3 separate regions of the Homo sapiens genome follow, and regions 1 and 3 are each linked to region 2. The links are contacts of gene promoters, found by promoter capture Hi-C in blood cells and fetal thymus (Javierre and others, 2016). All regions are on one chromosome and are shown on one strand. Each heading gives the region's core, a stretch centred on a gene start or on the middle of the fragment in contact. The rest is flanking DNA. Distances are from core to core; before and after follow the strand shown. Region 1 overlaps PIGL (phosphatidylinositol glycan anchor biosynthesis class L). Region 2 holds the start of NCOR1 (nuclear receptor corepressor 1). Region 3 overlaps NCOR1 (nuclear receptor corepressor 1).

The links. Contacts are between HindIII fragments. The CHiCAGO score rates a contact against its expected background, and 5 or more counts as called.
Region 1: a contact is called between a fragment that was not itself captured here and the fragment with the promoter of NCOR1 in region 2, in 10 of 17 cell types (M2 macrophages, M0 macrophages, megakaryocytes and 7 more). The highest score is 12.6, in M2 macrophages.
Region 3: a contact is called between a fragment that was not itself captured here and the fragment with the promoter of NCOR1 in region 2, in 1 of 17 cell types (M2 macrophages). The highest score is 5.8, in M2 macrophages.

The regions. Positions count from the first base shown.
Region 1 is chr17:16,293,312-16,297,034 of GRCh38, reverse strand. All of the region lies in intron 2 of PIGL (phosphatidylinositol glycan anchor biosynthesis class L), which reads right to left. Among named protein-coding and RNA genes, the nearest start is that of MIR1288, 13 kb to the right of the region's middle. The HindIII fragment of the contact is 8,760 bases long and covers 1-3,723 here.
Region 2 is chr17:16,213,352-16,217,148 of GRCh38, reverse strand. It overlaps NCOR1 (nuclear receptor corepressor 1), which reads left to right and starts at 1,615. Exons shown (of 46, transcript NM_006311.4): 1 at 1,615-1,787. RefSeq lists enhancers at 1-163, 1,350-1,409, 987-1,902, 1,903-2,819 and a silencer at 1,680-2,149. The HindIII fragment of the contact is 4,024 bases long and covers 52-3,797 here.
Region 3 is chr17:16,132,188-16,136,081 of GRCh38, reverse strand. The region is part of intron 14 of NCOR1 (nuclear receptor corepressor 1); the gene reads left to right. Among named protein-coding and RNA genes, the nearest start is that of SNORD163, 19 kb to the left of the region's middle. The HindIII fragment of the contact is 2,661 bases long and covers 702-3,362 here.

The DNA.
Region 1 (3,723 bases), core at 404-2,903, 80 kb before region 2:
TAAGAACTGTAAAAAGGGCCGGAACGGTGGCTCACGCCTGTAATCCCAGCACTTTGGGAGGCCGAGGCGGGCGGATCACGAGGTCAGGAGATTGAGACCATCCTGGCTAACACGGTGAAACCCCATCTCTACTAAAAATACAAAAAAAAAATTAGCCGGGCGTGGTGGCGGGCGCCTGTAGTCCCAGCTACTTGGGAGGCTGAGGCAGGAGAGTGGTGTGAACCTGGGAGGTGGAGCTTGCAGTCAGCCGAGACCGTGCCACTGCACTCCAGCCTGGGCAACAGAGCGAGACTTCAAGAACTGTAAAGAAATGTGTAAACATCAAAAGTGTGGCTGTTATTGCTGCATTAGCCTAATTTAAACCCTCCTTTAAAAAAAAAAGAAAGAACTCCCCAGTCTTTCTTTCTTTTTTCTTTTTTTTTTTTGAGATGGAGTCTCACTCTGTTGCCCAGGCTGGAGTGCAGTGGAGCAATCTCAGCTCACTGCAACCTCCGCCTCCCAGGTTCAAGGGATTCTCCTGCCTCAGCCTCCCCAGTAGCTGGGACTACAGACACCTGCCACCATGCTCAGCTAATTTTTGTATTTTTAGTAAAGACGGGGTTTCACCATATTGGCCAGGCTGGTCTCAAACTCCTGACCTTGTGATCCGCCCACCTCAGTCTCCCAAAGTGCTGGGATTACAGGTGTGAGCCACTGCACCTGGCCCCCAGTCCTTCTTTCTTGCAGTCCCTTGCAGAGCTCTTTGATGGCCACTTCTACAAGCGGTTTATGATTTCAAAGTGGGGTAGGCACCACAGGAGATGTGTAAGATGACTCATTGAGGTAAAGCAATGAATCACCAGGACTTCTATTTACCTGTTTTTCTGTTTACATTTATATTTTGTAGCTATTTTATAAGGCATCATATACCAACAGGGTTTAACATGTACACAGTTTGAATAAATAAGTACATAAATATGGAGGTGCAAGCTCAAATGTTGTTTCTTGCCATTAGGGGAGTGTGATAAAAATGTTTGGAGATCACTAGTCTAATCTACTCACTCTTCATTTTTCATTTTTTCTCCTGAATATTTTATTTTATTTATTTATTTTTGAGATGGTGTTTCGGTCTTGTTGCCTAGGCTGGAATGCAATGGCACCATCCTAGCTCACTGCAACCTCTGCCTCCCCGGTTCAAGTGATTCTCTTGCCTCAGCTTCCCGAGTAGCTGGGATTACAGGCATGTGCCACCATGCCCAGCTAATTTTGTATTTTTAGTAGAGACAGGGTTTCACCATATTGGCCAGGCTGGTCTCAAACTCCTGACCTCGTGATCCACCCACCTTGGCCTCCCAAAGTGCTGGGAGTACAGGCGTGAGCCACCACACCTGGCTGATAATTTATTTTTTTGAGACAGAGTCTTGCTCTGTCACCCAGGCTGGAATGCGGTGGTACAATCACAGCTCACTGGAGCCTTGACTTCCAGGCTCAAGTGATCCTCCCACCTCAGCCTCCCAAGTAGCTGAGATTACAGGTGTGAGCCACCAAGCCCAGCTAATAACTCAGTGATTTTTAGTACATGTATGGAATCTCTACATTTTATTTTACTAGTATTTTACATACATATATATATATACTTTTTTTTTTTTTTTTGAGACGGAGTCTTGCTCTGTCACCTAGGTTGGAGTGCAGTGGCATGATCTCAGCTCACTGCAACCTCCGCCACCTGGGTTCAAGCGATTCTCCTGCCTCAGCCTGTCAGTAATCGGGATTACAGGCGTGCGCCACCATGCCTGGCTAGTTTTTGTATTTTCAGTACAGACAGGGTTTCACCATGTTGGCCAGGCTGGTCTAGAACTCCTGACCTCAGATGATCCGCCCGCCTCAGCCTCCCAAAGTGCTGGGATTACAGGCTGCATATATTTAATTCTTGACTCTCCAACCTATCATAAGTCCCCCGATGGACGGATGTTACATGAGCCATTAATCAGTCAAGGTCTAACCAAGAAAATGGAGACCACCAGGTATTTCAGAAGGAATTTAATATAGAGACCTGTTTACCCACTGTATGGGAAGAGCTGAGAGGCCAAACAGGAAACAGTGAAACAACGCAGAGACTGGCCACAGCAGAAGGGCACCACCACCTCTAAGATAGGGGACAGCAGAGCCATGGAAGGGGAGCAGTGGTGGGAACTAGATGTCAGGAGAACTAGCTAGATGTCAGGGAAAACACCAACCTGCTGATGGACATGCCACTTAGGGTGGAGGATGGGGGAAATACCTGGTTCTTCCCTCTGCTACCTCCTAGTCATCCATCATTGCCATCTACTGGTCAAACCCCTCCAGAAGCCAATGGACATGGGAGCCTGGAAACTGTAGTTTCCATTGGAATAGAGCAAAGGCTTAAGATAGAGGCGATGTCTTACTCACAGCAGGTGTTCAATGGATACTTTCAATTGCTGCTCAGTCTTGGCCCTAAACCTTCAAAGGACAGCAGCAGTCTGGCCACCTGCCTCTCACTGTCTAAGAGTTTTCCAGCTTTATGGAAAAGCAATAACCTGCCAGGTGCTTGGTTATAGAGGGCAGCGGGGAGAACCGTACTGGGGGACATGGGGGCACCACAGGGCAAGCAGGATTCAAGGCTCAGGGAAGGGAGACATGGCAAGGGTTAATAGCCAGTTTCACCCCAGAAGCTCAGGGACAGAGTACCGTCCATGATTACAGTGGTCCAGTGTCACGAGCAGGCAATGTGATGTGGCAGAGAGAACATGGGGTAGGATGACACAGAACCCGAGTTCTAGCTCCCCTGCTTTCCATGTGACCTGGCAGGAGCTGCATCATCAGTAAAGATAAAATAATTCTGGGATGCACCTGATGACTGCCTGAGAGTCCTTCCAACTCTTAAGTCTAGGACTGTGTCATAAGCAAATGATTGATCTCACCCACTATCAGGGGGTGGAGCCACTAAAAGAAAGGCGTGGAGCAACACCTGTTCCTGTGAGCCTTTCTCCAAGTGAGCTTCCCTCACAGAGCAAAGACACTGCTATCAGGTATGACACAGATAACCTCCCAAAAGCCAATGAGAGACCAGATCTCTCATTGGACAAGGCCAAATTCTTTACTACACACCTTCCTTGTATTTAGAAACCTTCACTGAACTCCTCTACCAACTATAGCTTAGACTACCCCACTTCGTACCTGATTTGAATAGTATTCTATTATTTTCTGTTGTTTTGTGTGTCTCTTTAGCTAAACTTAAAATATAAGACTAGGCCTGTGCCTTATTCTTCTATTTCTTAGGTGGTACATGGTACAACTCAAGTCAATGAACAATTTTTTAAAATAAATAAACAATAAGTAATTGTGCTTCTACCCTATGCAAGGAAGTGTGTTAGGGGGTTTAACAAGCACTAGTTGCTTGACAGAAGTACTCTATATTTGGATGAACCAAAGGGAATTATACCAGCCACTGGGGGCTGATGCATGTAAGCAAGATGTTTGAAAGATTGCAATTTTTTTTTCTTTTTTGAGACGGAGTCTCCTTCTGTCACCCAGGCTGGAGTGCAGTGGTGCGATCTCGGCTCACTGCAACCTCCGCCTCCTGGCTTCACGCCATTCTCCTGCCTCAGCCACCCGAGTAGCTGGGACTACAGGCGCCCGCCACCACACCCGGCTAAGTTTGTTTTTGGATTTTTAGTAGAGACGGGGTTTCACCGTGTTAGCCAGGATGGACTGGATCTCCTG
Region 2 (3,797 bases), core at 366-2,865:
GAATGTTGGGTTCCGCTGTTAAGTCCCTCCCGCCGACATGCTCCGGAAGCTTGAGGTTTTAACGTTAAGGGTTCTCTTGTGTTTTAACACAGAAGTCTCCATGCCGTCCAGTTTCCTACCCTAGTCCTACCACACTGTACAATCGGTTTAAAAGGAAGCGTCTTATATATAAGCTCCCACTTATAGGAAGAGTTCCTTCCTCTTCATTTTCGAATTCATTTCTTAAAACTCGGGCCTTTCTCGTAATTATAGGGTTAGACAGCCCGTTATCCGTATGACAGTTTTCCAAAATAGCCAGTTACACCAACTTTGTTATTCCTTCTCACTTTTGGATGGCTTTCTTTACCTTTTTTTTTTTTTTTGAGAGGCTCTGTCGCCCAGGCTGGAGTGCAGTGGAGCGATCTCGGCTCACTGCAACCTCTGTCTCCCGGGTTCAAGCGACTCTTCTGCCTCAGCCTCCCGAGTAGCTGGGACTATAGGCGCGCGCCACCACGCCCAGCTAATTTTTGTATTTTTAGTAGAGAGGGGGTTTCACCATGTTAACTAGGCTGGTCTCGAACTCCTGACTTCGTGATCCGCTCGCCTCGGCCTCCCAAAGTGCTGGGATTACAGGCCTGAGCCACCGCGCCCGGCCCTTTCTTTTTTTTTTTTGAAACGGTCTGGCTCCGTCGCCCAGGCTGGAGTGCAGTGGCGCGACCTAGGTTCGCTGCTACCTCAGCCTCCCGCGTTCAAGCAATTCTCCCACTTCGGTCTCCCCAGTAGCTGGGATTACTGGCGCGCGCCACCACGCCCGCTTAATTTTTGTATTTTTAGTAGTGACGGGGTTTCTCCATGTTCGTCAGGCTGGTCTCGAACTCCTGACCTTAAGTGATGGCCCGCCTCGGCCTCCCTAAGTGCTGGGATTACAAGCGTGACCCACTGCGTCCGGTCGGGCCTGGCTTTTCTAAAGGAACGTATGCGTGCGGTTACGAGGAACCGTCGTTTCCCCAGCAGGGTGAGGCTGAGCGTGCACTTAACAGTCGCGAGGGCCACAGGCTCCTCTTGCAAGTAACTTAAGGTTAAGGAGCAACATCGTGGACAAATCGGCCTCGCCCAGCATTTCAGTGAGGGCTTGGTGCGAATTCCAGCCAGAGCCCTAGAAAGTATCTTGGGCAGGTCGAAATGCACCCCTCCAGCTCCCAGCCACGAGGGGACCGGCTTCCCTGTACGCAGCTCCGGCCAGAGGAGGCCGCCGCCGCCCCACCACGCCGCGGAGGGGTTTGCAGGGTCCCTTCCACGGCCTGGAGTTTTTCCTTTTCCCACGCCTGAGGAAGGCCTCGGGCGCGCGGAACAGACGGGCAGGCGGGGGGCGCACAAGCCCAGGGCACGATGGCAGCAGCGCTGGATCCGGCTGGGCGCTGCTCGGCCCCGTATCCGTCCGAGAGGACCGCCGCTGCCAGGCCTAGAGGAGACATGAAGAGACCGGGCGCAGCGCGACCCGGGAAGCTCCGCCGAGGTAGGAGAGGCGCCCGGCCAGCGGAGGGAGTTGGTCTCCCAACTCTCCGGAAGGAGGAGGAGCCGGCGCTGGAGCCGCCTTAGCCGCGGCTCCGCGGGCTGGGGGGAGGGAGAGGGGTTGAGTCAAGATGGCGGCCAAGGTGGCGAAGCAGCAGCCGCGGCGGCGGCGGCGGCTGGAGTGAGCGTCCGACTCGCCGCGCCGAACGAGGTCCCGGTGTAGGGCCGCGCGCCGTGGCCGCGTCCCACTCCTCAGGCCGGGGCGCACGTCGGCTCCCACGCTTAGCCAGCTCCCGGTGAGTAGGCCCTGGCGCCTGCAACCCCGGCCTCCGGGCTCCTGCTAGTCCGGGGGCTTCCGAGGGCTCCCGGGGCAGCAGCCGCTGGGACGGTTTCTCCGCCGGGCGGGGGGTGTCGCAGGCCTGGGCAGGTCGGGACCCGTCCTGGCCGCCTGGCCTCTTCCACTCGGCAGCCCAGGAGAGAGCCGGGCGCGGCGGGGAGCTCGGGCTGGGCTAGCGGAGGCTTATGGAGTTTGGAGGAAGAATGGGCTGTGGCCGGGCCGGGGCTGGCCCCGAGGTGTCCTGTGCGGAGGGGCGTGCGGAGCCTACAGGGCCTGCGAGGGAGAGCGGGCAGCCGGTGCCCCGGGTGGGGCCGGCGCAGGTGGCGGGCCTGGGCTCACTGAGGCGGAGTTGGTGGCCGACTTGGAAGTGTAGAAGGGGCTGCGGAGGTTGACAGCCATGGACAAGTGCGTGCAGAGTAAATTAGTTCACCTTTCTAACAGACCGCTTCAGGGTGTAATGGCGAAGGCTGGGTACTGGTGGAGATGGCAAAGATCCGAACACTATACCTTCTGCCGTTTATTGTTGGTGTTTTCTTAAGCGAAGTCCGTAAGTGCACCCCTTTTTGGGGAGAGAGGAATTTGAGAAACTGTAGTTGTGAAATCAGCCTTTATGGAGAGGAGACTGAATTCTTCAAATTAACTGGATCAGGAATAGTCATGTATTAAAGGAATGGATGGGAATAAGTGATATGGACGAAAACTATTTGCTCAGGAAGTGTCAGTTTTCTTTATGTGATGTTGCATGCTGCGGTGCCTCTTCCACAGAGTTAACCTTGGAGAGTAGTAGTATAGGTAATTCTAATCTTTGGGATTAGTATGTAAACCTGCATCAGATTTGCTTCTCTAATTATATCCTAATTATATTGAAATTTACATTCCTTGTGTGCACCCTGGTGAGGCAGTGATGGAAGGCTGAACATGGCACTGTGCAAGGAGCAACAGGCCCGGGATTTAAAAATGCCTACAAAGATTCATTCATTCGTTCAATATATCTTGATCAATAGCTGCTGATGCTGGGTCACATGTGATTGTCCTGTGGATAACTGAAGAGTTGATGGCATCGTTTAATTTTTAATAGCTTTTTAAAATGTTTTGATGTACCTTTTCATGAAGATATTTATTGGATGAACCAACTTGTACTTGCCCGGGCTCAGGAGCAGACCAATTTTAGAATGTTATTTAGACAAGGGTAACAATTACAGAAGAAGTAACCGCAAGTTACTGGAGAGAGAAATCTTGTATCTTTTTTTCTTTTTCTGTTAACATCCGGTGGAAGTTTATTTATTTGTTTTAATATTTATAGTACCCAGTTGCTTGGCCTTGCTTTAAGCACACCTGTTAATGGAAATCAAGATTAATTGTATATATGGATATAGCTATGTATAAAATGCTCACAGTAGGAACTGATTACTTACAATACTAAAATACTCTTTCCTTTTACAAAAGGCTTGCCATATGTTGAACTACTCCCCCGGAGAAAATATAATACAAAGTATCTTGATTCTTGCTCTAACTATGTGATTTTGGAACTTGATCAACCTTTCTGTGCTTCAGTTTCCTCATCTTGAATATTAGGTAAACATCTACTCTCCTAGGGTTGGCTGTTGTGAGCCTAAAGGGAGTTAATAGTTATAAAATTGTTTTAAACAGATTGAAGGGGTTATATTTCTGTGAGGTGGTAACAGCTCCCTCTGGGCTCCTGTAATGCTTTTTCTGCACATCTCTCGCGGCATTTACACTTTCTATCTTGTAGGTATTTATGTACCTATTTTATCTCTTGAGAGCAGGATAGGCCCTTCGCTGATTTTATCTTTTTTTTTTTTTTTTTTTTGAGACAGTCTTGCTCTGTCACCCAGGCTGGAGTGCAGTGGCGCAATCTCAGCTCATTGCAACCTCCGCCTCCGGGTTCAAGCAATTCTTCTGCCTCAGCCTCCCGAGTAGCTGGGACTACAGGCGCGTGCCACCATGC
Region 3 (3,894 bases), core at 783-3,282, 81 kb after region 2:
GCAGCTGCCATAGCTCACAGGTGCTTACCAGAGAGACTGCTGCGCTACTGCCACCACCACAGTTAATATGGAGGCTTTTGCTGTCTACACCCGGATAGATATTACAATAAGGACTTGCATGCATGAGCTCCGACACTGCAACGATTCATTAGCATTATTAAATCTCTTCTGGTTTTCCCACTCAGCCACCCTTTTGTTGGGGTGGGGTCTTACTCCCTTTCTTCGTTTGATAGCCCCTGGTTACCAGATATAGGTTATTGACCCAGTTCTCTCAGTATTCACAGCTATAACCTTTTTATGTTTTCTGGGTCATTATTTCCCACAGAACACCACCACCCCACATGATGTGATTACATGCTCTTTGGAAACAGTATTTCTTGTTTAAAAAAGTATAGCGAGTGTTTCATGAGTCAACTGTGTAAAATGCTGTTAGAGGTTGAGTAAGCCAAGGTGCCTTAGACGTGGATTTTCAGTGAATTAGTGAGGGGGCAGAAACACGGTTACACAGAGTTGAAGAAGATACAGAAGGTGAGGAAGTGGCATTAGTACAAGTGCAACCTTGTTTTTAAAATTTTTTTATAAAGTGGAATAGTGAAATGGGTCGGTAGGGCTAATGAGGATCAGAGAAGGGAGGATAAAGGGCATACTTGTACACTGATGGGTGCAGTACCGTAAGACAAAGGATGGGTGCTTGCCAAGCTTCATAAAGATGTACTGACAGAAAAGGAATAAATTGAGTGTTGACAGTGAAATAGGAAGCACTATTCCACCAGAGAGAAGAATATTGCCAGGGCTTTTCTTCCTGCTTCCCCTAAAGAATGTGGAATCAAGGTCCTGTAATACCCTTTTAGCTAGAGATCATAGGGACCATCTATGTTTTAAACAAGTTTCAGCTACAGTTTTTTTTTTTTTTTTTTTTTTTTGAGATGGAGTCTCGCTCTGTCGCCCAGGCTGGAGTGCAGTGGTGCGATCTTGGCTCACTGCAAGCTCCACCTCCCGGGTTCATGCCATTCTGCTGCCCCAGCCTCCTGAGTAGCTGGGACTACCGGCACCCGCCACCACATCTGGTTCATTTTTTGTATATTTAGTAGAGACGGGGTTTCACCGTGTTAGTCAGGATGGTCTCGATCTCCTGACCTCGTGATCTGCCCGCCTCGGCCTCCCAAAGTGCTGGGATTACAGGCATGAGCCACGGCGCCCGGCCTCAGCTGCAAATTTCTAACAGTTTTGTTCCTAATTGCCAAATAGTATTTATAACTTTATCTTTAGAAATTATATATGTTACTGTTTAAAATGTTCAGTCCTACATTAACGTAAGAGATAAGGTGATACTTATACAGTGTACCTTAACCTTTGCCAGATTAGCAGCCAGTTGCCCATGATGATAGAGGAGAGAGCTCTAGCAGGAAGTTCTATGGGGCACGGATGTTTGTTATTCTGAAACAGTCGTTTCTTTCCTAAAGTTGTCTGGGACACAGTTTCACTCCTCTCTGTGGCACACCGATCCTTGTTAAGATCCAGCCATGTTGGTGTTCTCTTCTGTACATTCTTGTTGCATGTTTCAAAGTACCTGTCTCAGAATGTATTTGCAGATGTGAGAATTGCCATGTATACCCTCACCTTGACCTGAGCCTTAGGTTGCTTACCCCCAGGTAGGCTCAGTTTTGGGTTGGTCAGCACTTCTGGTAGGCTAGCTCTGCCCTCATTAGCTTTTAAGTTATTGCTTTGAAGATTTTTCCTCCAATTTTACATTTCTCTGGTTGTTTCACGGGGAATTTGGGAGAGGTGTGAGTTAAATGAATTTAGACCATCATCTCATGCCACCAGATTTACCATTGTTTCTTAATTGTTTGTATACTTATTCCATTTATTTGTGTCAAAATAGAGGGGCAGCTTTTCAGAAATTAGGTGGTGTTAGTTTAAGGGCTCTCTGTGTAAAACTGAAGGCCTTTTGAGCTGATACCAGGTGAGAGAAGAAGCCACTGGGGTTTTGAGCAAAAGAGGGCTGCCAGATTTCAGTTGTGACATGATTACTCTGGTTGCTCTGTTGAGAATAGTTTGTAAGGAGACAAGAGAAGAAGCAGAGAAACCAGTTAGGAGGTTGTTTTAATAATCCCATTGACTTGGACTAGGCTACAGTGAGGAGGCGGGGAGAACGGATTAGTTTCTGGATGTACTTTTGAAGGTAAAACCACGAGATTTTGCTGATGGATTGATTGTGGGGATGAGGAAAGGACAATAATCAAGGAAAACAAGTTTTGACCTGTGGAGTTGCCATTTGCTGTGACAGGCATGACTGAAGGAGGAGCAGGTTTTGAGGGGAAAATCAGGACATGGCTGAATATGAAATACCTATTAGGTGTCTAAGCAGAGATCCAAATGAGGTCCAAGTAAAGTGGATAGTTAGACATATAAGTCTGGAGTGTAGGAAAAAGATCTGGGTTAAAGATATAGAATTTGCTATATAGAAAAAAGGTTAGAATACTTCTTTTTAAAAACAGAATTGAATTGCAAGGTTAAGATTTTCAAAATCTATGTATCAACTCCCTTGATTTTACCCTGGTGGATACAGAGATCCAACTAATTTGAAAATCACTTTACTTCTCTGCTATGTAACCAAGCTCTAGTCAGGAGGGTTTAGCTCAGGTGATCTCACAGCCATTATGGCATGTTTACTTAAAGATTCTTTAAAGTTCTGCTGAAGTTTATGCTTGATCCTGTCAATATGAGTTTGATTACTCTCCCTATCCTCTACTCCCAGCCTCCTTTTTGTAGGAAGTAATTTTTATTCAGCAGATAAATGTATAGTGTGTGGCTGGGTGCGATGGCTCACGCTTGTGATCTCAACACTTTGGGAGTCCAGGGCGGGTGGATCACTTGAGGTCAGGAATTCGAGACCAGCCTGGGCAACATGCTGAAACCCTGTCTCTATTGAAAATGCAAAAATTAGCCTGGAGTGGTGGTGCACACCTATAATCTCAGCTATTCTGGAGGCTGAGGTAGAAAAATCGCTTGAACCTGGGAAGCAGAGGTTGCAGCGAGCCTAGATCATGCCACTGCACTCCCACCTGGGTGACAGAGCAAGACCCCGTCTGGAAAAAAAAGAAAGAAGAGAGAAAGAGAAAAGGAAGGAAGGGAGGGAGGGAAAAAAGAAGAAGAAGAAGGAAGGGAGGGAGGGAAGGAAGGAGGGAAAGGAAGGAAGGAAAGCAAGAAAAGCCAGACTGGACGTGGTGGCTCATGCCTAGAATCCCAGAGCAAGACTCCATCTCAGGAAAAAAAAAAAAAAAAAAGTGTAGTTTGCTATTGATAGATTCTAAGTTTGCAAAGTTTGATTTTTTAAAACCTGTTGCTATAGGGAAGCTTAGTAGTGTTTACTCTGAAAATGAGTTTTAATCTTAGACTCATAGGAAAATGAGACAGATGTTTATATTTTTGTTAAAATTGTGTTCAGAGGTTATTCTTGGCAGGAATTTTAACTCTTCTCTCCAAATTCTGATAGAGACTACCCCAACCCATTTTTATAGTTCAGCTTGTTACCATTCCATGGAGAGTGAGTGTGGTTCTCTATATGTTTTTGTTGAAGTAATGAATACATATTGGAGATTGGAAGCCAAAAACCACTGTTGAATGTTATTATTTAGGATCTAGGATTATGCCCTACGTAATAGTTTGATTCTATGTACATTGTTCTTGCTAGCAGTAAGAGTTTCTTCCCCTAGTAAATGCTGCATTTTTCCAACATAAACTGCCATCTGGTAAGTCTGTCACTGTGCAGGTAGAATTACTGTGGTACTTGCTAGTTACCTGCAGTAAAGCAAGTCATGTTAGAAACCATATTCTTCATTTCCAAATGCTTGATTACTTTCCACAGGAATTCATGCCCTTCTTTTATGC